Linked DNA regions of Homo sapiens: all the other regions are linked to region 1. The links are contacts of gene promoters, found by promoter capture Hi-C in blood cells and fetal thymus (Javierre and others, 2016). All regions are on one chromosome and are shown on one strand. Each heading gives the region's core, a stretch centred on a gene start or on the middle of the fragment in contact. The rest is flanking DNA. Distances are from core to core; before and after follow the strand shown. Region 1 holds the start of RBM26 (RNA binding motif protein 26). Region 2 overlaps MYCBP2 (MYC binding protein 2). Region 3 overlaps LOC107984564 (a long non-coding RNA gene). Region 4 overlaps MYCBP2 (MYC binding protein 2).

Evidence for each region. The method cuts DNA at HindIII sites, captures the fragments that hold promoters and counts their contacts. A CHiCAGO score of 5 or more calls a contact.
Region 2: a fragment that was not itself captured here is called in contact with the fragment with the promoter of RBM26 in region 1 in 1 of 17 cell types (total B cells); the score reaches 5.4 in total B cells.
Region 3: a fragment that was not itself captured here is called in contact with the fragment with the promoter of RBM26 in region 1 in 6 of 17 cell types (non-activated CD4 T cells, total CD4 T cells, naive CD8 T cells and 3 more); the score reaches 13.7 in non-activated CD4 T cells.
Region 4: a contact is called between a fragment that was not itself captured here and the fragment with the promoter of RBM26 in region 1, in 1 of 17 cell types (total CD4 T cells). The highest score is 9.7, in total CD4 T cells.

What each region holds. Positions count from the first base shown.
Region 1 is chr13:79,403,334-79,408,855 of GRCh38, forward strand. RBM26 (RNA binding motif protein 26) reads right to left here and starts at 2,922. Exons shown (of 22, transcript NM_001366735.2): 1 at 2,371-2,922. The coding sequence starts at 2,441. It overlaps RBM26-AS1 (RBM26 antisense RNA 1), which reads left to right and starts at 2,976. Exons shown (of 7, transcript NR_038991.1): 1 at 2,976-3,144. RefSeq lists a silencer at 2,478-2,677 and enhancers at 2,587-3,578, 2,908-3,207. The HindIII fragment of the contact is 7,810 bases long and covers 1-4,435 here.
Region 2 is chr13:77,188,212-77,193,669 of GRCh38, forward strand. MYCBP2 (MYC binding protein 2) reads right to left here. Exons shown (of 83, transcript NM_015057.5): 28 at 3,468-3,602; 29 at 2,041-2,124; 30 at 740-836. Among named protein-coding and RNA genes, the nearest start is that of MYCBP2-AS2, 110 kb to the left of the region's middle. The HindIII fragment of the contact is 629 bases long and covers 2,451-3,079 here.
Region 3 is chr13:77,327,760-77,334,114 of GRCh38, forward strand. It overlaps LOC107984564 (a long non-coding RNA gene), which reads left to right. Exons shown (of 2, transcript XR_001749930.2): 2 at 1-439. Among named protein-coding and RNA genes, the nearest start is that of MYCBP2, 3.8 kb to the left of the region's middle. RefSeq lists an enhancer at 1,836-1,915. The HindIII fragment of the contact is 3,671 bases long and covers 2,784-6,355 here.
Region 4 is chr13:77,214,151-77,220,389 of GRCh38, forward strand. It overlaps MYCBP2 (MYC binding protein 2), which reads right to left. Exons shown (of 83, transcript NM_015057.5): 21 at 3,690-3,807. Among named protein-coding and RNA genes, the nearest start is that of MYCBP2, 110 kb to the right of the region's middle. The HindIII fragment of the contact is 3,364 bases long and covers 3,183-6,239 here.

The DNA of each region.
Region 1 (5,522 bases), core at 1,672-4,171:
ACAACATAATGACTGCAGTGCTACAGCCATCGAGAGTAGGCTTTATGATACATGGAATATGTTTCATTAAGACTAAAGAAAAATTACAAGCATACACTCTAAGTAGCTACAGTCTTCTCATTTAGGTAAGATGGAGGGATACGGCAGTAAATCTAATATGAAACTGAACGCTTAAAGGAAAGCTATTTCAATCCAAAACATTTATAAGTTTTGTATTCACCTAATAACTACTGAATGCTAATTACACACCAGACAGTAGTCTAAGATTTCCTTAATATACACCCATTATTTTCCCAATTTTACAGTTGAGGAAATGGAAGCCCTGAGTTAAGTAACTTACCCAATATCATACAGCTGGTAAGTGGCAGAGGCAGAATTCAAAGCCAGACATTCTGCTCCAGAGTTCTCCTCACCGCTATACTATGATGCCCACTCTCCAATACACCGAAATAGGACTTCCATCTGCACAACTCTACTCCAGTGAAACTATTTTGCTAAGGTTACCAATGACTTCCACTTTGCTAAATCTAAGGGCTACCTATTTGCCTCCATTTTTTCATGCATTCTGCAGCATTTCATAAACTCCTCTCTTTTGCCATACACTTGTTTTTTAATGACATAAAGCCCAGTTTTCCTCCTGCCTCAGTACTAGGCCCTCTTCTCTTCCCTACCTACACACTTTTTCTATGAAATTTCCCACAATGTCATCGTCTTAAATACTATCTGCATGACTCCAGATTTCTCCAGTCCTGTCCTGAGTTTTAGACTCATATATTCAATGATCTGCTATCACACTTAGCTGTATCCCACAGACTTCATACTTACTGTATTTATTATTATCAAAACTAGCCATCCACTTTCCTTCTCCCCTTAACCTGTTCTCTGCCTTCTCTAATATCACCCATTCTGTTGCTTGGGTTATCTAAGGCACCACCCTTGATTTCCCTTTCCCTCATCTCCCGCATTTAATCCATTAATTTTACTTATGAAATGTATTTGGATCTGCCTGTCTCCACCATCACTCTAATGCAAACTAGCCACATCTCTGCCTACAACACACTTCTGAATAATCTTCTTACTTCCATTCTTGCCCTTTCAGTCTCTACAAAATAGGCAGAGTTAAAACAAAATTAAATCAGTCCTTGTCTGCTTTAAATCATCTCACGTCTTCCCATACATGATGTGGCCCCTACCTACTTGTCCAACTTGTTGCCTTTATATCCTCTCCCTCATCACAAGGCTCTTTCCAGCCACAGTGGCCTTTCTCTTCCTGAAACACACCACAATCACTTCTGCTACAGGGCCTTTCATTTGCTCTTCCTTTTGCAAGGAATGTTCTTTTCCAAGACTTTGACACACATGGTCCCTTCTCTTTAGATGTTACTCCAATGTCACCTTCTCTGAGAGTCCTTCCTTGACCAATGTGAAATAGCCCCCCTCATAATCACTTTTACATGATTCTCTATTATTACAATAGTCACAACTCTATTAATATCTGGATTTATTTATGTCTTGTCGATTTTAGAATTTAAAAGCTCTATCCCCAAAGCCTCCCGTAGTATACAGTAGGTACCTAATAACTTTATTAAATACGTGAATTTTCCCCATTGCATTATTGTAAATCAACCAATTCTGATTAAGCACTTTGGTCCATGTCATATTTTGTATTAACAAGTCGTCAAAACACTCCTTAAATTTTCCAATCTAAGACTATTTCAGCACTCTAACCGCAGCCCCCAACACAAAATCTATCTATAGCATCCCACTTAAAACTGCTAAATATTCCATATGGATGAAGATTCAATTTTCTTCCTCCTCTCCAAGCTAACGAACGCGTAGGCGGGAAAGGGGAATTTTACTGGCCACCTCAGCACCTGTTACATCTTCAATCAGTGAAGAGAGGTGCAGATGAGCCAGACAGCACATGGGAGACGTGGCCTTGCTTTCAGGAATTATATTTAGGTGAAACGTGAGTGATTTAAGCTAGAACTGCCCGAATCCCCAATAAAGGCCGTCTACTTCATTTAGAAAAACAAGGTAAAATAATCTGTAGGAAGTAAAATACAGTCGGTTTCACTAAAATAAACCGATTTTGAGGCCCCCGGAAAATATTGCGGGTGGGGGTTGGAGACGGTCTATATATAACGGGAAAACGAGAGCAGCTCAGCAATAAAATAAAGCTCGACTCAGGCTCTCGGGGGTATCCTGAATCTGGAAGCGAGGTGGACGAGGAGGAGAAGCCACAGAACCCTGGGACCTCCGTTCACCGCTTCGGCCTCCACCGCAGGCACTTGGGGAAACTGCACAGATCTCTGGGTCCGCCTATCTCCCACTGCCATCCCTGCAAAGAGATATCCCCCGGATACTCACATGGGCTCGAGAGTCTTGCTGAGCCAGGACTTGAGTGCCTCGAAGTTTTCAATGATCATTTTAGAAACCATCCACAGCGGCCCTAAGGCCCGTCACACTCCTCCGCCCGCCCAGGTCGCGGCCGCTACAGCCGCCGCTGCCCCCGCCCCCTCCTCCGCGCGCCGCCCGCGTGGGCCGCGGTGGGAGGCGCCGGTGGCAGGTTCCCGCGGGCCCCGGTCGGCGAACAGCTCTGCAAGGACCGCCGCAGGCCACAAGTGCACGGGGTGCCAGGAGCTCCCCGTCCCCGGCCCCCAGCCCGGGCTGAAACAGCAACGGTTTGCCCGGGCCCTCCCCCTTCCCTCTTCCCCAGCAAATCTACCCAGACCGGAAGCGCGACACGCGCTTAGACCCGAGCCTTCTCTCAGCCTCGGGACCAGGTGCTTGTTGGCTACGTCGAAAAGGCAAAAGTAAAGAAAGCGAAGGCGAAGGGCAGCTCAATGGGAACGATTCAGGGGGTCTTCCCGGCTCCCAGCACCCCCAAGAAGATGGCTGCCGGTAAATCTCGCGAGAATTGATGAAGTCTCGCGGTGGCTCCCGGAGCCTGCTGGGAGAGACGTAAGGTCGGCGGAGAATGCGCGGGTCGAGTGCTGTAGTTCGATTTTTGCGTGTGTGCGTTGCTTGCGGCCTTTGTGCCTTTTTATTCTTTGCTTACCTTTATGATATAAAGACCTTATTTCTTACAAGGAGGAAAAGACCGCTGACTTCAGAAACAGCGGGAACCCCAGCTCGTCCCCGGTAAGACGGCCGTGGCCTGTCAGCTGGAACGGTCCTGCCGGATGGATCGCTCTTTGAGAGCGTACACTCCCGCGTGCGCGACACCAGGCGGCCCGTAGGTTCCAGGTGCCGAGCACACTACCTCCTCAGTTTACCTAAGTGCCCTACCAGTATCATATTCTGTGTATGCTGTGATGTGAACGAGGTTTGTAAACACAGGCTGGTCTAATGGAGCCCAATGAGACCGCCAGAGGATTAGTGTCTTGTCCAACAGTACTTGACTTGCTGGTAGAGCCCTAATGACTGAGGGCTGCCCACAAGGGAAAGGTGAGAGAACCTTCACGTCTCTCAGGTAGTTTCCAGCCTGCACTTTCCCCCAGCTAAAGATAAGTTTTGTTATTTTTAAAATTCTCTTTATTTAGAGCAAATTCAGCCCTATCTCAGATCGGGAAATTATATAGTATCAAAAGAGAGAGTCTTCATATTAGCAACCCAAATAAATAAACTATTTTCCTGGGTGATCAAATAAGTTTGATTCCTGCTTGAGTTCTATTTAGATACTAGGTGGAATTTTACAAAGGGTCTACGTTCCATGAACTGTAATGGAATGAAAATATTCACAATCTAAAGACATTTTCAGTAAGTAGATCAATAAAAGCTCTTTATGAGAGACACCGATAGGCTAAATTGTTCTTAGGAACTCTTGAGTTTATAATTTGCTAGAGTGAAGTGTCTTTAAGGATTAGGTGGAAAGATTATGAACTACAAAGCAAGACATTTGTTTTAAAATACAGCATATAGAGTAGAATACAAATTAGAATCCAGCTACTGAATAACCAGGGTGTTGATTAAAGTGATTTAGCTGAGTGAAATAAACCAGACATGAAAGGACAAATATTATGATTCCACTTACATTAAGTACCTAGAGTAGTCAAAACTCCTAGAGACAGAAGGTGGAATGGTAGCAAGAGCAGGGGTGGAGAGGGTGCCCAGGAGAAGGGGAAATGAGGAGTTATATTTCAGTGGATAATAGAGTTTCAGTTTAGGATGATTTAGATTCTGGAGATGAGTGGTGTTGTGTGGGTTGCACAATATGAATGTACTTAATGCAGTGGACCATATACTTAATGAAAACGGTAGGTTTTATATGTATTTTACAATAAAAATTGTTTATAAATTTAATACTGCCGAAAGTTAAAATTATATTTGTTTAGTCTGTTTGTTGTAGCCTTGCCACAGGCTGACGCCACCAATATTTTCAACCTTATCACCAGCTACTCCATTACTCTGGCTCTCCACTTCAGCCTTCCAAAGCTTCTATCAAATACTGTATACCCCAGATAAACTGATTTGCTCACCCTCCCTTTCTCCAAACATTTGTTCACTTTATTTTCCACAGAGAACGCTTCTACTTCTTTCCCTGACTGCTCAAACTTTGCCCATCCATCTCTCATACCACTGTCACTGTCTTATTTAAAGTCTTTTATTCTTCCTAAATAATAGCAAAAGCCTTTTAATATCTTTGCCTTTTATGCTGACCTCCATCTCAGTTCATCTTCAGTTGCCCTCATCATCATTGCCTTTAATAGCAGTAATTCTAAAATTTTGATCTAATCATGTCACTTTCTTGCTTAAAATCTTCAACTTCCACATTATCTTTAGAATAAAACACATTATTTAACATCCTATAAAGGGACTTTCATAAATCAGACACCTTCCTTTTTGCCTAGAAACTCCTTTCAGTCTTTGCTCCAGCCATCCTAAACTATTTTGAGTTCCTTAAAATAAGTTGTTCCATGAAAAGGCCCTTTATGCAAAGTGCCCCCCAAACATCAAAGGAGAAATCAAATGAACAAAGCAGACAAATCCAGTTTGGTCAGTAAAGAGTGTTTTGTTGGGGGTAACTTACAGACAGAAGCATGGTCTTCAGTGGCAGCAAGACAGGTAGATGTCTGCCCTTTTACTCCCCAGACCAGTACTTACATGCCATAAGGAAAGGGTGTACGTACTCTATAGAGACATTTAAAGGCAACCCTCCAGACAGGCAAGAATGCTATATGCATCATAGCCTGTAATTTGTGTGATAACATCAGGGTTGCTTTGTTGTTAAACTAAGGACAGTAAATAAAGTAATAATCACAGGGCTGGGGTTAATCAGAAGGCAACATGACAAATTAGCATTCAAGAGGGAGTAAACGTTTGTCTCCACAGAAGTGTGTCCTCTCACTAAATTGAGCCATTGCAAAATGTGTTTCTCTACCTTTCATTTGATAGATTCCTACTTAAGCGTCAAAATGCAGTGCATACAGCATCGCCTTTGGAAATCCATCTTTGACCTCCCTTCTGTAAAGCGAGAGTCCCTCTGAGATTTTCTGACATCAGCCTGTGATTGCTTCTTT
Region 2 (5,458 bases), core at 1,515-4,014, 2.2 Mb before region 1:
TATTCACTTGGTGGGTTGAAAAATAAATTTAAAAGGGAAAGAAACATTCTTCCTATGCATTTTACTAATATGAAAGACTACTAGCTATATTAATAAATCACATTCAGATGGTGCCTTACAGTTCCAAAAACATCTTACACCCCTTATCTCATTAGAAATTCAAAATGCTATGATGTAATTTACTTAGGTAACATACGTAAGAATCCTCAATTAATACATGAGAGATCAAGACCTTAATTTATACTTTCATTTATTTACATCATGTTGACTTTCCATTCTGCACTGTTAACCTCAATGGCACTGTGCTTCTTCATGTGTACAATGGGGATGGCAAGTGGTTCAACAAACTTCCTAGTTAGATATGCAACTCTTCCACCTAGTTCCTCAAGTAGTAATCACGCTTTTTTGGGCCAGCACCATCCTTAACTTTTCCTTCATTTTCTAATTCATTCAGCATATGCATTCATATATGATTTACTAGAAAAGCAAATCGTTATTTGTTTCAAAAACAGCAAGGCCAATTCATCTGGTCATGTTAAAATCATAGGCCAACACCTCCATTTTTCTATGATTTAAAGTATACTTTATCTGTGGTCTAGAATATAAATGTGAATACAAAACCAAATCTGAGTTTATAAATCTAGGCTAAGATAAACTTACAAGAGCAGCTAAACTCTAAACATCAAAATGTATCTGAGGACTGAAGAGAAAAGCTGAAATTTTTTAAAACATGGCTTACCACTGAGACAGTTCTTGCAAAAGACCTCTTTAAAATGTGTACAGGTTCACTGGTTTGCTGTTTGCCTTTTGAAGCACTGCCATCACTGGTTGGAAGTCTAAAGGCAGTAGACACATATAAAATTATGTTAGAAAGTCCAATGTCATTTTTTCTTTTTAAAGTATATTATACATTTTTGAATGGGAAAATAAATTATATATTTAAATTTTTTTGCCAGGTAATGCCAATACAGGGCTTTTTTGAAACATTTTTCCAAGCTAAACAAAGTTTTTAGCATATGGGCACTTCCTTTAAATCCTACCTTCGCAAGACCGAGTAGTAGAGGCTTTTTCCTCTTCTTAGAGAACATATATAATGTATATAACATATAACTTATATTCTCTAGTAATGCTACTATTAATGCTGTTATTTAAAAGTTATTCAACCAGTGAGTACCTGGGAGTAGTCCAATGCAACACGTTATGTTTGTAGAGCTACATATTACAAACAGTAACTATAACAGATTGCACGGTGCATAAAAACCAAACAAACGAAAAAACCTTTTGGGGAAAAATAATGTTTGTAACCACAAAGTGATTACCAGAAAGAAAGATAGGGAGATAGAATCACAGTTCTAGACCATTTCCTTTGATTTTTTACTGCTTAACGAATGACAACATTTTTCAGTAACGGTTTATATCCATTTGAATTCTTTATTCTAAAAGTATTGCAGTAGTCTAGAAATAAATAAGGTAAACACAGGCATATGCCTTTATACATGCTTAAATTATTGTAAGTTAAAATTTTTCAATAATGTTAAAAATATAGTAAATATTATATGAGCAAGTTATTATTTGGTATTTTAGCTAAAGGTGAAAATTTACCAACAGTAGGGAATTTTCCAACTCATTTTATCAGTCTTATGAGACTACAATATATCAACCAGGCCTGCATCTATAGTCCTCCCCATCTTCCCTGCAATCTCACTTCTCCAAGACAAATTTTATTCTTTTACAACATTTGAAATTAGTAAGAAAATCAATGGATAGATTTTTTTTAAAGTCAGTAAAATATTGTTATTGGTATAATACAGATAATCTGAGTAATCAGGCAAAGTTTAAAGTTAAGCCTGTATGGAAAATGTTTAAAAATATACAAAATATTAACTGTTTTTGTTAAATATATTTATAGTTCTACCAGCATATTATAATTTGCTGAATGCTTCAAATAATTTCTCCCTATTATGCCACGTTTTGTAATGATTCTACTTCATTATAGCAAAATAATAAACCATACTAATTCAGTATAAATATGCTAAATACCTGTATAATAACTGAGGTATCTGACCCGCATTAACATCTGTACCATTATTTGATTTCTTTGAACTCTTGAACTGGAAAACAACCCTAAGAAGAGAAAACAATGATACCAAAAACAACATGATCATTACAGGAAATAAGAAATTTAAGAAACATGTTTTCAAATCTTATGTCAATGAAAATGATTCACTCTTTTACATAAAGAAAAGCAAAAAGGTATTTTCTAGATTTTCATTCTAGCTCTGAATGGGTTAGTCAGTAAAATGAAAGAACTGAACGTGATTAGGACTCCTAAATGAGTAGCTGTCCTGTCCCTCCTAGCTCTCCAACTCAGCTTTAACCACAGCAGTAAACTTCTAAAATTTCTACTTACAACTAAGTAGTATAATATCTGCTTGACTAGCTGCATGATAAGCTTTAGCCTCAGTGTGCCATGACATTCCAAGTCTGAATGAACTGTCTATGAAAATCATACAGTCCAGGGTCAAAGTAGTCACTTAGTTCTAAAGACATTCTTAAGTTGATGCACATAACAACAGATGTGATTTTTCTACAGTAGTCTCCTTGAATATTCAGCAACAGGAAATTCACCTCACAAATAAGTCTATTTCTTTTTTTGGTCAGCTTTGTTATGAATTGACCTGCACTGGAATATATACTGTTATATAACTTCAACTGATTTCAAATAGTTTATGCTCAGGAGTAATCAAGAATAAACTGAATTTATCTTACAAATGATAGTCCTTTAGAATACATAAATCATAGTAATAGAATATTGAAATGTTGGATTTAGAGTCAACAGGTTACAGGTCTGACCTTGGTTTTAACCACATGACTCTCAGGAAATAGCAAATAATTTCACCTTTTTATTTCTCTAGTCCCTGGAGTATAAAATGGGGCTAATAACTGCTTCACAAAGCTATTGAGGGCATCAAATCAGATAAAATATAAGAATATGAACTGAAAAGTACTCTATACGTGAAAGTTATTTTAAAACAGCAAAATTTTCCCTATATTTTATTAAAATAACACACATTGCTGAAGCTTTGAAATTTTAAACTGTTTTCTCATGCACTATCAAATTTAATATCACATATCTACTTCTTTTTTATGGTTCCAAACTCCTCATTTTCCTTGTCACCTTCCTCTATATAATTTCTAATTTGGTAATCAAGCTCGTAAACAATGTAATACCCAGAAATATATACAAATACCATCTGACAGGAGCAAAGTACAGTGGTCTTATTATCTCCTTGTTCTGTCTAGACCTCAATTTGGCATGAGGTTACATGAATTTAATTTTTAGCAGTTATATTATGCTCTAGTCTTCCTAAGCTTTTGAATCCTGCTGAAAGTACTCTGAATTTTCAAAACAATATTCCTCTAACAAAAATAAGTATTGCTTAAGTAACACTTGGGCATTTACTTACCCATCATCTGTGGTAATAGATGCCTGTCCATGAGATCCACAGTCACTGCTGGGTCCTGACACTCGGGCCCATGCCACATACCACCACCCAGCTTGCAGGAGAACAGGCTCATCAAACATCATTGCATATTTTTCTCTGAGAAAAAATTAGTGAGTCAAAAACAATATTTTCTTACTTCTCTGTCACATATATTTATTTTTTCAAAATCCCTTGTGAACAAAAACATGAAACTAACTGTATTATAAAATTCTTATCAAACAACATTAAAAACACTCTAAGAAGTCTGGACAAGAATGCAAGCAAATATAGTTATTTATGTTATGGTGATAGAATTACATTTCTTCCTCCTCTTCTTGAATTCTACAATATCCTTAAATGTTATAAAACTTTCATATTAAAATTAGAATGTTTTAAACTGATATTAAAAAACATTCAAATTTTGCTGGAAAATAAAAATCTGAACTTTAGTTTTAAAGCTCATTCATTCAGCTAAATAGTTTTGAAAGGCAGCATATTAAGAAAATGGCCCTGGAGTCAGGCAGCCTGGGTTCAAGGCCCAGCTCTGTGACCTGCTAGCAGGGCAACGCAGGGCAAGTTACTCTATCCTCTCAGTACCTTAGCTTCTTCACCTGAAAACTGTGGTGAAAATAATATCCTGCTCATAGAGTTGTCCTTTAGAATGAATTAAGTCAGATAGGTGTTTGGAGTCTGTCACATAATATCTATACAAACATTATTAATTTAGAAGAAGAAAAAAGACAATAAATAAGGGCATCTTCTAAAGGATATAAACAAGTTACAAAGTACTAGGTAACAGAGTGGAAGGAATGTTTATTGGTTGTAGCTGGAATTGAAAGAAGAATAAAGGGCATTTAAAGAAGCAGGAGAATGTCATGAAAAAATCTGTAGAGGTATGGAAGTACAAAAGAGGTCAGGAAATGACAAGGTGTTCATTATTAATTTCATTAATGCATTAAGACAGCTGTAGAAGAGTAGTGGTAGAAAGTCAAAAAAGATGCTGGATGTTATGGAAATCCTTCAATGCTCCCAATGCCTTAGGAGTCTGGGCTTTGTATATAAGCTAATGAAGAAATCCTAGACGATTCTCTATAAATGAAACTGTGCTTTATATTTTCGACTCAAACTCATATGGTCAAAAACAAATGGCAGCCAGGCACAGTGGCTCATTCCTGTAATCCCAGCACTTTCAGAGGCCAAGGCAGGAGGATCACTTGAGGTCAGGAGTTCAAGGCCAGCCTGGTCAGCATGGTAAAACCCCATCTCTACTAAAAATACAAACATTAGCCGGGCCTGGTGGCATGCGACTGTAGTCCCAACTACTCAGGAGGCTGAGGCATGAGAATCGCTTAAATCCGGGAGGCAGAGGTTGCAGTGAGTTGAGATCACACCACTGCACTCCAGCCTAGGTGATGGAGTGAGACTCTGTCTCAAAAATAAAAATTAATAAATGAATAAATAAAGAAATAAATAAATACGGCAAATGACAATGGCACCTTAAGGCTTTGCTGAAAATTAATCAATTAGCTTTCTTAAAATTTTCCCTAATATTCATTTGTATAAAACACTAAAGGTTACTAAAAAAATCTTGCGATATTAGTTAATGCCTAAGAAATAGTCAAAATTTTCTTTAGATTTACTCTTTTGTTTTCAAAAGTATTTATATCTTGTACAAGCAAAGTCAGTATCTTACGATCATCCTTGTTTCTGAAAATATACATTTTCACTAGCAAGAAAACCTACAAGGTTTTCCTAACATAGTTATTGTTGGGAAACATAGCACACTATTACTACTATGAAGCTCAGTTTATAATTTTTCTTATAATAATATTCCCTGCTTCAAACCAGGGAACACTGATCATAACACAATATTGAGATAATTCTTAGGATTACGTAGAGAGGACTGATAAAGTGTAAGTATCCTCTTACTTAATGAACCTTCATAAATAAACATACTAATTTTTATAAACTCC
Region 3 (6,355 bases), core at 3,369-5,868, 2.1 Mb before region 1:
TTTATCTCTTGGCAGTGGTCATTTAATGGTTTATTTTTTTCTGCCCAAACTTACATTTTTAAAGATAATTCTTGAATGCGATCTGAAACAATAATTGTGACGGAGACTGTATAGCGTCTGAAAATGTCAGATCCATCACATATCTTGTTGTTGTCTATAAAAAAGTAACATTTGCTCAGTCCTTTGTTCCAAGCTAACCTACGAACCCCATCTAAGTATATGCTCTAGAAATATACGTGCCAATGCACTTTGATTCCTACTACGTTTTATCCTTTGACTCTCAATTTGAAGAGTTTCCTAATTTACAGTCCTGACAAAATAATTTATAAGTTCTGTCATCCCAGTACTGTATCTTTCATCTATGTACTAGTTCTTATATCTGTGCCTCTTCTTCGGATGGCCTTCTCTTAAAAAAAAATAAAATAAATGTTAAAAAATCCTCCTTAGTGTTTGAGAAGTGCAAACAACAAGGAATAGGAAAGTAAATTAATTCTAGTTTTAGGGTGGAAGGTTGCTGAAAGCAATGCATTTTTTTCTGAAGCTTTAAATAATGGATGGATTTCATTTAGTTTTTTTAAAGATAATTAGCAGTGGGATAAACATAGGAACAAAGGACAAGACATGTGGAATCATAGTATTTTAGTACTGTAATTAGCCCTGTTAAGTTTTTGTATTTGTCTTGTTTCCTTACCTAAGTTCCTTCAGAGCTTGCTGCTTTTGTGTCTCCTTCAGCCACTTCAGGACTTTGCATGTAGTAGGTATCCAGTAAGTATTTATTAGACTAAATTTCTATCCTAATGCTTCAGCACAGTTAAAGACCTCAGTGTTGACCAGGCAGCCCCTAACCCTGGAGTGAGAACCAAGACAATGGTGTAGAGGCAGCTAAATTCTAAGAATTCTAAGGCCTGACAGGTAAGCAATGAGAGGGCCCATTACTATTGCAAGACCTAGCAGGGTAGCTAAAAGGCTCTGAAATCAGACAGCCCTGGAATTGGATCCTGACTCTGCTACTTAATACTTGTCTGGCTTTGGGCAAATTATCTCCTCTGAATAATGCTCAAAAGAATACCCACTACATGAGATTGAGGGAGGACTTAAAGGATCTAGGATGTCCAACTTGGCACATGAATTTTCACAAATGGTAGCACATACTAAACAAAACACTAGGTTTTCCGTAGGGTAGCAATGGTGTCTGTTCAACCATCACAGGCTCCTAGCACAGGGTCTAGCCCTGAACAGGAGGGAAATAGATGTTGGCTGAATGAATGAATGTTGCTTGCACAGAAAACATTTACAGCGCAGGCTCAGGTGGTGGAATGTGCAGTCACTGCCCATTTAGAGTTTCTAGTGGACATTGACCCGCGTGGCTGCCCTGGTCTCCGGGCTCTTCCCACCATTCATTAATTTCGCTTCAATCTTTACTGCTGTTCAGTCCCAGACAGGCCCCTACGGAGCCTGATGGGTACACTCAAAACCCGGAAACTGGATAACTTGCTAAGAAGCCCGATGTCATTGAGCTGCGCAACTAGGCGTGCGCAGAGTCGCACACATGCTCACTTAGGTATCCGAGAGTGGCATTTCTGTTGCGGTTGGCAGCGTTTCCTTCCACGGCAGCGGCAGCGGTCGCTCTCCTCAAAATTGATAGCCAGTGCAGCGTTTTTTCTCCTCCTCCTCCTCTTCCTGCCTCCGCACGGCGCGCTCCCCGGTCCCTGCAACTGCCACAGCTACCGCCTTGGCAGCTGGGCAACTTGGAAGGCTCCCCTGGGATGGCGGGGGAGTGGGGCGCATGCCAGAAAGAAAAAGGCATTTGGAGTCACCCTTACTTCTACTGTCAAGGGGACGTGAAGGAGAGTGTGGTCACAAGTCGCGAGGGTCGCCTGAACCGTCGCTGCAGATCGGAGACGTGGGTTTCTGGCAGTATGCAAAGCAAGCGTCCCCTCCCGCCGCTCCTGCGAGCTCTACTACCGAATGCCTTACGCAGCCCTTGTGTTTGGGGAAAGAGGGGGACCTATACAGAATGAAAAAACACAGAGGGCTTTGCTTTTCTTTCCCCACCCCACCGAGCTCGGCCCCCGTGCTTTCTGCGCTGCCATCTTAGTTCCTCCAGCGGCCGGGCTGGGCGTGTGTGCATTTGTGTGTACAGGGAGGGCTGCAGCCGGGGGGCGTGGGGGCCGCCTGGGCGGCTTGGGTGTCGGAATGGGCTAGACAGCAGTTCACCCACGACACATTCGCCCTCAAAGAATAGCATTGAACTACGGCAAATCCTGCCTGTGCCCATTTTATTACGGGCGTAGTATGTTTTATTCTTTGTGGTTGGTATGCTCATTTCGCAAAAGAGATCTCTCTGTCCTGTGCCCATGTAATAAGACTATGGCTTCATCTTTCCCCTTGTGATCACAGATTTAGTCGTTCTTTTCCACTTAACATTGCAAACCTGGACCACAGTTTTTTGAACTCTTATCACATTTACATTTTTCCTACTCTCATCTTTAACGATTTTGTTTTTAAAGGAAGCTACCCGTGCTGATGTAGTAAATAACAGGGCAGGAACCATAACGTGTATATAAGAGGACAGATTAGTGTTGTTTCATTTAAAGGGTTAATATTGTACTAAAGCTACAAGACTACAAACACAGGAAGTATGTATATTATTAGGTACATCGAGACTGCTGAAAATGCTGTGGTAAAGTCTGCGTTTGTTTCCTGGATTTGTACAACAATGTATTGGGGAATTTAAAAACAAAATTGGTAGCTGAGAACAATTTGGGAAAAAAAAAAGAAAAAGCTTAGGCTTGAAGAGTGAAGACATGCTTTACTCTTCAGTGACCTTCTCTTTTTAAGGGTAATAAGATAGTGCATTCTTGACAAATATATTGCACTTTAAAATAAAGTATATTTCATAGAATATATTTAGTACTCCAAGCTGAAGGGAAAAATTCAACATGGCTATCGAAATTATTTTAAACATAAATTACATATTGCATCCCCTGGCTATCTTAACCTCATGCTTTAAACAACTATATTTTTAGGGCCTTGGGATATTCAGTAACTTGTAAGCATGATGAGTTAATGTTTTTCTTTTTTATTCATGGTAGTTTTAAAAGATGTAAATTATATGTCCAAGTTTTCCCACATCCAAAAATTTAGGTTCCAGGGATCCTAAGTTATATATTGACATATATTGACATTTTCATCCGTGAAAAATTATCCTAAAATATATTAGTATATGTTTTTTAAGTATGTGAATTCAATACTATATATCTGAATGCAAATCACATTCTTTCAAAATCTCATTGTTGTGATGCATTTAGCCTAGAGGATGTTTTCACAACTGATGTAGAAAGTTATATAAAGTATAATTGTCCTAAAAACAGAAAGTTTAAAACTATAGCATTTCAACCTTGAAAACTTTAGTATAGTTTATAAGTTATTAGATTAATCTTTTTTAAATTTTGTTATTACTTTAAAATTTTTTTGTGGGTACATAGAAGGTGTATATATTTATAGGATGCATGAGATATTTTGATACAGGCATGCAATGTGAAATAAGCACATGATGGAGAATAAGGTATCCATCCCCTCAAGCATTTATCTTTTGAGTTACAAACAATCCAGTTACATTCTTTCAGTTATTTTAAAATACACAATTAAGTTATTATTGACTATAGTCACCCTATTATGCTATCAAATAGTAGGTCTTATTCATTCTTTCTGATTTTTTTTTTTTGTACCCATTAACCATCCCCATCTCCCCTCCCCAAACTCCTCATGACTCTTCCCAGCTTCTGGTAACCATCCTACTCTCTATGTCCATAAGTTCAATTGTTTTGATTTTTAGATCCCACAAGCGAGTGAGAACATGTGATGTTTGTCTTTCTGTGTCTGGCTTATTTCACTTAACATAATGATCTGTAGTTCAGTCCATGCTATTGTAAATGACTGGATCTCATTCTTTTTATGGTTGAATAGTACTCCATTGTGTATGTGTGTACCACGTTTTCTTTATCCCTTTATAGGGTGATGGACACTTACATCAATAAGTTTGCTTCCAAATCTTGGCCATTGTAAACAGTGCTGCAACAAACAGGAGCGCAGACATCTCTTCTATATACTGATTTTCTTTCCTTTGGGTATATACCCAGCAGTGGGATTGCTGGGTCATATGGTAGCTCAATTTTAAGTTTTTTGAGGAACCTCCAAACTGTTCTTAATAGTGGTTGTACTTATTTACATTCCCACCAACAGTGTTCAAGTGTTCCCTTTTCTCCACATCCTCGCCAACATTTGTTATTGCCTGTCTTTTGGATAGAAACCATTTTCTTTGTTGTTGTTTGTTTGTTTTTTGAGACAGTCTCACTCTGTCACCCAGGCTGGACTGCAGTGGCATGATCTCAGCTCACTGCAACCTCCGCCTCCCGGGTTCAAGCGATTCTTGTGCCTCAGCCTGCCAAGTAGCTGGGATTACAGGCACGCACTGCCGCACCTGGCTAATTTTTGTATTTTTAGTAGAGACGGGGTTTCACCATGTTGGCCAGGCTGGTCTCAAACTTCTGACCTCAGGTGATCCGCCCCCTCTTGGCCTCCCAAAGTGCTAGGATTAGAGGCGTGAGCCACCGCGCCTGGCCATAAGCCATTTTTAACTGGCGTGATATTAGATTGATCTTTATTACTAAAATTAAATAGTAAGAGGATAATTGAAATTCTCATGTAGAATAGCAACTATGTCATATTAATGTTTCTTTTAAATATATTTAATAGGGTTATTGCCAAATCCAGATAACCTGATATAACTAAATGGCTCTAAAATGACTATATTAGTCATGGTCTTTTTTTTCAAAGACTTTTACCTCTTTCATGCTACATCTTCTCATCAGTAAAGTGAATAATAATAGCACCTACTTCATTAGATTATTTGAGGGTTAAATTAAATAATCTGTATGACTTACTTGCTTAACATACTACATAGCAGGCCATAGCTATTATTGTCAATATTATGTTAATATATTAATGATCCCTTATTTGAGGGATGTCCTAATCTTGTGCTAGAAGTAACAAAACAGTTATACAATTTGAGTTATATAGATTAGGATTTGAAAGTTGGTTTTCTTGTTGTTTTCTTAACAAAGAGTCCTGTCCACAAATAAAGATTTACTGTGTCTTGACATGACAGGAAGAATAGAATCCAAAGACAATAGTTGTTTCCCTAAAATACCCATTCTTGTATAATTTGTTAACTCACAAAACACATTGCCTACCTTCATAAATTCAATAAGTGTTTTGAATTTTTACTGATGGATACATTTCGACATGTAACAGCCAAAACAGACTATAGTTTCTTCTCAAAAGGCTAGTAGCTATGGTATCTCTCCAGATTCAAAAACTATAAATCATCTATAATTTACATTTTCTGTAGGTTAATCTGAATTTAACATCAAAATCTTGACCTTGCCTAGTTTGGCTTCCTATTTTGATGAATATTTCTACATTTATATTTAGAAAGTAAAAAGGAGCCAATTTACCAGTTCTTCATAAAAAATTTTTCTTAAGAATATTTTGCCTCTTTTTTGATATCATATCAGGTTTGCCTTCAAACTAGACCGGAAGCTATTTTAAAAGTTTTTAGAACATAAAAGTCATAAAAAATATTTCACAGTCTTCCTAAATTAACTTGTGGTGACAGAATTTTCTTGGATAGACAAAATAATCTTACCTATTTGATGCCAAATTGTTGTGAACTGAATTAATTACTAATTTTTGTGGTGCAGCAAAGACAACACTGCTTGCAGAGAAAAACTGTGGCATCCCTGCAGGTACTTCTAAAGTCTACCTCAGTGTTGGTGGGGTGGTGTGCCAGGAATCTGCTTATTTGCTCTTGAGTCCATTCCTGTCCATTCTCCTGCTCTGCTCTGTACAGCAGGGGAAGGATCCCTGCAAATTCCATTTGTCAGGCTTCCCTTGCCAGCTAGTTTCAAATTAGCTTCAGCCTGGGGGCAAAATGGGTGACTGGCAAGTAGGCAGCAGGAGAATCAATTTCTCTCTCTCTCTCTCCCGGCACCCCACCCCCGCCAACTTTAGGCAACATCTCCTCTGTGGTTCCAGCTCCTGCTGAACAGCTTCTCCTTCCATGGTCCAGCTGCAATTAGGTAACCTCTCGTAAAGCCAGTTCTCACTGAGCAGCCCCAGCTTGTGGACCCTGGTAGCAGCGTTTTCTCCTTGGTGTCTCCAGCCCTAGGGATTGTAGATATCTCTGTCCCTTGTTTGGCTTTTCTATTCCTAGAGTAGCATTGCAATTAGTTCCCCATATTCAATTCTCTCTCTTAATGACCTGGCATGCATTTATCTGTTTTCCTGATTG
Region 4 (6,239 bases), core at 3,615-6,114, 2.2 Mb before region 1:
GACTGGCACAAATTAAAGGTACCACAACACATTCTGTTGGCAATTCTGTGGAAACAGGCAATCTCATACACCGTTAGTGTGAAAGCAAAATACAGGAGAATTGTTAATATCTCACAAAACTACATAGGCATTAACCTTCAACACAGTAATCTCACTTCTAGGAATTTATCTCAAAGATACACCTCTAACAATATTCACTACTACCATTACAAAGTATTGGAAACCACGTAAATATATAAACATGAGAAACTGAATGAATAAACTATCATATATACACACAATGGGGTATTACATGGAGGTAAAAAAAAAAATGAAGAGCTTTATGAATTGATATGGAGTGATTTCTAGGAGAGATGCTGAAGCGAAAAGAGCAAAGTGCAAAAGAGCATATATAGGCTATTACCTTTAAAAAACGGGAAAGGGGAAATATATATATTTATGTACAGTCACATGTCACTTAATGACAGGGATATGTTCTGAAATATGTGTCATTAGGTGATTCTGTGATGCTGCGAACATCAGAGTGGACTTATACAAACCTAGACGGTATATCTACTACATACTTAGGTGATATGGTGTAGCCTATTGCTCCTAGGCTACCAACCTGTACAGCATGCTGGTGTACTGAATACTGTAGGCAACTGTAACCCATTAGTAAGTATTTCTGCATGTAAACATAGAAAAGTTATAGTCAAAGTACTTATTATAATCTTATGGGAACACCTTAGCATACGCAGTCCATCACTGACCAAAATACTGTTATACAGTGCATAACTGTGTATACACATACATACATATATAGGTATATATATATAAAATAGTGTGTCTGCATGCTTATATATCTTCACAAGAAGAAACACAAGAAGAATAAACTGTAAAACAATGACATTCATTACCTCCAAGTATGGAATGAAAGGTGTGGGGAGGCAGGAATGTCAAGGATATGGGAGGAAGTGACACCTCTTGAGTATACAATTTTTGTATAACTTAATTTTTAGCAACATGTAAATGTTCTATATATTTTAAAAATGAAATAAAACTTAATCAAAGGATAGGGTGAGGGGAATCTTAAACTGAAACAAATGAGCCCCACTCTATTCCAAAGGAATCACAATTTCCACTGAAAGGAGTGAGAGAGAGAATCCAGGCCACTCATGGACAGTGCTTGACTATACACCTTCAGACTTGGGGTGGGGAGCAGGTGGGAGGGGAAAGAGCAAGAATGACCTTTCAGTGAGTTTGTTTTTTTGAACTTGTACAGGCAAAGCAAATATAAAACTATTTTAGACATATCTGGGGACTAAGTGAGAAATAAATATATTGATATTGTTGAGAGGAAAGATTCTTACTGAGGAAGAAAGTACATAAATATAGAACAGGACAGGTAAGAAAGAACCTTGTGGGAATGGATTGGAAGTAGAAGTCACAGTGGGGTTCTTTTTCTTTCTTTTTGAGACAGGATCTTGCTCTGCTGTCCAGGCCAGAGGGCAATGATGGAATCACAGCTCTCACTACAGCCTCGACCTCCAGGGCTCAAGTGATCCTCCTACCTCAACCTCCTGAGCAGCTAGGACCACTGGCATGTGCCACGGCACCCAGCTAATTTTTTTAATAGAGATGGGGTCTCACTATGTTGTCCAGGCTGGTCTCAAACTCCTGGGCTTGAGTGATCCTCCTACACTGGCCTGCCAAAGTGCTGGGATTATAGGTATGAGCCACCACACCTGGCCTATGATTTCTAAAATACATACATATATGTGGACATATAAATATATGCATACCAGAGATCCAAAGACGTCCTGTAGCAATGAACACTTCTAGTGCCCAGTTAGTGTCTAATACTATTCCCCACTAAAAAGAATCAGGGTTCTTGGAGAAATGGCTGATTCTAGGACAGTCATACAGGGCCTGTACAAGATAAACCCTGAACAACTTGTTATGCTGGAAAGAAAGGAAGCACTCCAAAAAATGAAGGGGCATGTCACAAGAATACAGGAGCCAACTTGAAGGGGCTACTGCTGGCCAAATCGGAGATAATCTAGGCACCCAAATAATTAAAGATGATAATGAAGAAAATACAAATACCTGAGTCTATACCAATAATAAGTAGAAAAACAAGTAAACAGGAAAGGAGGGCTCTTGCTTAGAGTAAAAGGCCAAGTGCCTACTGGAGTTGAAAAAAATCACCATTTTTTAAACATTATAGTAAAGACTAGCTCAGGAAAGAATGATCAATGGATGCTAAATCTAGGGGGAAATTTTGATGAGAAGCAGGCATCTTAAAAGTGTCAACCTACAGGTTGCTTATAGTTTCAAAGGAGAAACAGTACAGAAATCAGACATTTGATCAGGTGATCAAAATGTCCATAATCAATGAAGAGCAGATGGACATTCTGAGCCTTCAGATGTGATGCAGTGAGGGCAAACACAACATAACTTACAGAGTATCTTGGCCTGGGTGCACAACCTGCATCTAAACATGAGGACATTATCAAAGAAACAAAAATGAAGAGGATTCTATTTTTCAAAACAGTACTATATACTCTTCAAAAATGTCAATGTTATAATAGACAATACATAGCTGTAGAAATGTTACAGATTAAAGGAGACTAAAGACACACAACAGGCAAATGTAATGCCTGATCCTAGATTGGAGGGGAAAGAAATGCCAAAAAATAATTATTAGGTCAATTCACAAAATACAAACTAAAGTATGTAGGAGGTAACGGGCCATAATGTACACAAGACATTGTCAAAGGATTTGAGAAAAAAAAATATTTTATATACATACGTACACACACACATTTGTGCATACACACACACTGCGTGTGTGAGAAAGAGAACAGCCACATGTGCAATAATAAAGCAAATGCTGGATCAAAATGTTAACAATAGGTGAATCTGGTTAAAGACACTAACCAGATATTCTACACACTGTTCTTAGTTGTGCAATCTTTCTGTAAGTTTGAAACCATTTTCAAATAAAATATTTTAAGTACACATTTACAGTTTTTAAAAAATCAAAAGCTGTAAATGTCATCTCAGACACTTAGGTTCAAGAGTTCTTAGTAATTATCCACATCTGAAATGGTACAAGAGTATTAGCACAGTCTCGCAAAGATTTTTCTTGATATCTACTATGCCCAAACTACACAAAATTCTTAGAGCATTTTCACTCTTTAAGCTTTGGTGCAGAGAGAGGGAGAGAATGTGCACAAGCGCCTATGTAACAGACAGGCGGATAGACTCAGAGGGTGGAAAAGGAAAAAAGAAAGTATAATTTTAAACAAATCAAATAAAAAAAACTAGGCTTTTAAAAGGTTACAAAATAGCATAGTTCTATGTGTTAAGAAAAATTCATCTCTACAAGTTAGATGAGAAATAACCTTTCCTATGACAGAATTAGCTCTATTGAATGCTTAAAAGACTTTAATCTGAAATAAACATGTCCAATTCTAACAAAGCTGTTAAATTCAATAAATTCTAATGCTGAGCTAGAGAGGAAAATTACTTCAAAGAATATCATTCAGGTTTAGTGTGTGTTGGGGATGAAGGCATGAAATATGCATATGTAACAATTATAATATAATTGTTATATTATATTCTGGAAACAGAAAAAAGAGCTAATATAGACAAATTATAAGGCAATGGTATAATGCAATATTATTAATGTTTTAAAAATTCCTTACAGAAAAACTTCCAAATGTGAAGACCTGTCCATCCATTAAAAGTACTGCCGTATGGTTGCTGCCTGCAGTGACTTGTGTGCTAGGGCCTGGCAATGCTTGAACAAGAGTGGGACATCCCCTAGGTTAAAAAAAAAAAAAGTAAGTCAATTTCTTACAAAACTCAACTAAAATAAAAACAATAAGTAAGCAATGCAACAAGGAGTAGGAAAGATAAAAGGCACTCATAAGAATATTCAGTAAACATTTAAGTGCTAAACGCCTATCTCCATTCCAGGTACTAGGTAAACAAAGATGAAAAAGACAGTTGCTGACTTTAAGGAGATCATCAAAAAGATCTTCTAAATGTAATTACCCTAATTATAGACACATAATAATTTCTGAAAAACTGGTGCTACATTTATTTTTAATCTGGTACTCTGTATACTGACTGGCCTGTTAGAGATCTTTATAAATAATTATTGGATGAAATAAAAATCATGTAATGCCTTAACAGAAATTCAATCCAGGAACTAGATGAAATAATTTTATGATCATCTTTTCTAACTTTTATCACTAAGCTATAAGTTTAGATCTTAGAATCACAGTTAATGAGTCAAAACACAGTATCATGAGAGGCATTAGAGCAGTGACTACAAGCTCAGGCTTTAAAGCTAGACTGGCTGGTTGTGAATCCTGGCTCCCCAACTTAATAATAATGCGACCAGACTTCGAACAAGTTTTTCATTCTTTTTGTATTTCAGTTTCCTCTTTATCACATGGAGAATACTAACAAACGGTGTCTACCCCCACAGAGTTCCTGTGAACAGTAAAGAGGCCCATACGTGTCAAGTACTTGGATCAGCGTCTGGCACACAGTTAACACTTAATGAACAGTAACTATTATGATAAATGACATCCTAGTATCCTTTCCTACTTTTAACAGCCATTTTTAGTAACCATTATCTGTAATTAGAAACACAACCATTATAGAAATAGTCCACACATAGCAGGAGAGCTCTGCTTTTGAGAAATGTAATTATGACACTTTAAATTTTAAAAATTATATAGTAGTTTGGGTAATTTATGATGAAGGCCTTAACTAGGAGCAGTGCAGAGTGAAAGAGATGGTGACTTTGATAGCTATGTAAGGAACAGAATTGATGAAACTTGGCAGATGATCGATATGGGGCAAGGAAGATTTTTTTTGCTTAAGCAACAGAGTAGATAGTGGTAATATTCACTTAAGCTATGAGAATGAATGAGATCTAGGAAGACTCTTTGAGAGAGAAAAGAAGAGATCCTAATTTCCCTTATGAGTCTCTTCTAACATTTTAGATACAGACCGAGGAAGAACAGCTCACAGACATCTAGAATAAACCACACAGAAAGAAAGAACTCAAGGAGACTCATTGGAGGAGTAGGTTTCAAGCGTGGAAAATAAAGTACATGCCAAATGCTCTAAGGAGACATACACCTAACCACTCGATTTAGCAGAAGGAGGTCTCTTTGGTGGAAGCAGGCACCACAATGCAGCAGATAAGGAGTCAGAGAATACACAAAGTAGCTCTAAGTATCCCAGCACTAAAGGGAAAAAGAAAGGAGAGCCAGCAGCTAAAGGAAAAATGAAGCTGAAGGAGAGGATTTTTTTTTTTTAATGATAAGAGATTTGAGGAAGTTTAAAAGGTGACTCAAAATAAAGACGCTAAAGACAAAGGTTAGAGAGAAGACAGGAAACAGAAATAGATCTCTAAGGAAAAGACAGCTAGGTTTCATAGCAAGGACACAACAGGTTCCTCTTTAACTGTAACATGAGGAAAGAAGCAGAGAAGTGGTATGGATGGAAGTAGGTTTGCAGGGTTGGTGGGCTGAATAATTTCTTACATCTGTTGCAATGTACATGGAGATCCTATGCTAAAAGGAGGAAACAGGTGAGTGGAGAGTTTGAAGATTCGAGAAAAGGTGTGGTGGTAGATGGAATAGATACATACCGAGAGCAGGAGTTTTCAACTCAGATATAAAGGACTTCTAGGAAGTCCATGAGTGAGCTTCAAAAGATCTCCTAAATTTGCAAGCAAATTTTTAAGTGTATATTCTTGTATTTTTCATAGAGACCCCATGTCTTTCATCAAACTCTCAAAAGGTATTAAGTCAAATAGTTCAATACTACACAACAGGAGGATTAATGACCATTGTACAGGAACTGGTTGAATCTGGAAATTAAGTATCAATCTGCATAGGTATGGTGATTTCTTACCTTCCAGAAGCCTAAGTATAGGCATAGGAAATATTAAGATTGATTCATGTTTGCGGTTTTATCATGTCCTAGCACCACGACCAAGAGAGTGGGAAAACTGAAGAAACTGGTAAGAGTATAGGTGAAGAAATTAAGCAACAGTCTTTAACTTGAGTAGGAAATAAAGTTAAAAAAAGGGTGAAAAAAGAGTAAAAAAGTAGAGGGCTGTGGGGCATAAAGTCAAAGGGAAATAAAGTAGGGCTGCATCACAGAAGAAGAAAGTATCATCAGATTATGGATATTTAAACTTGAGAAACTGAGACACAAGAAGATTAAGT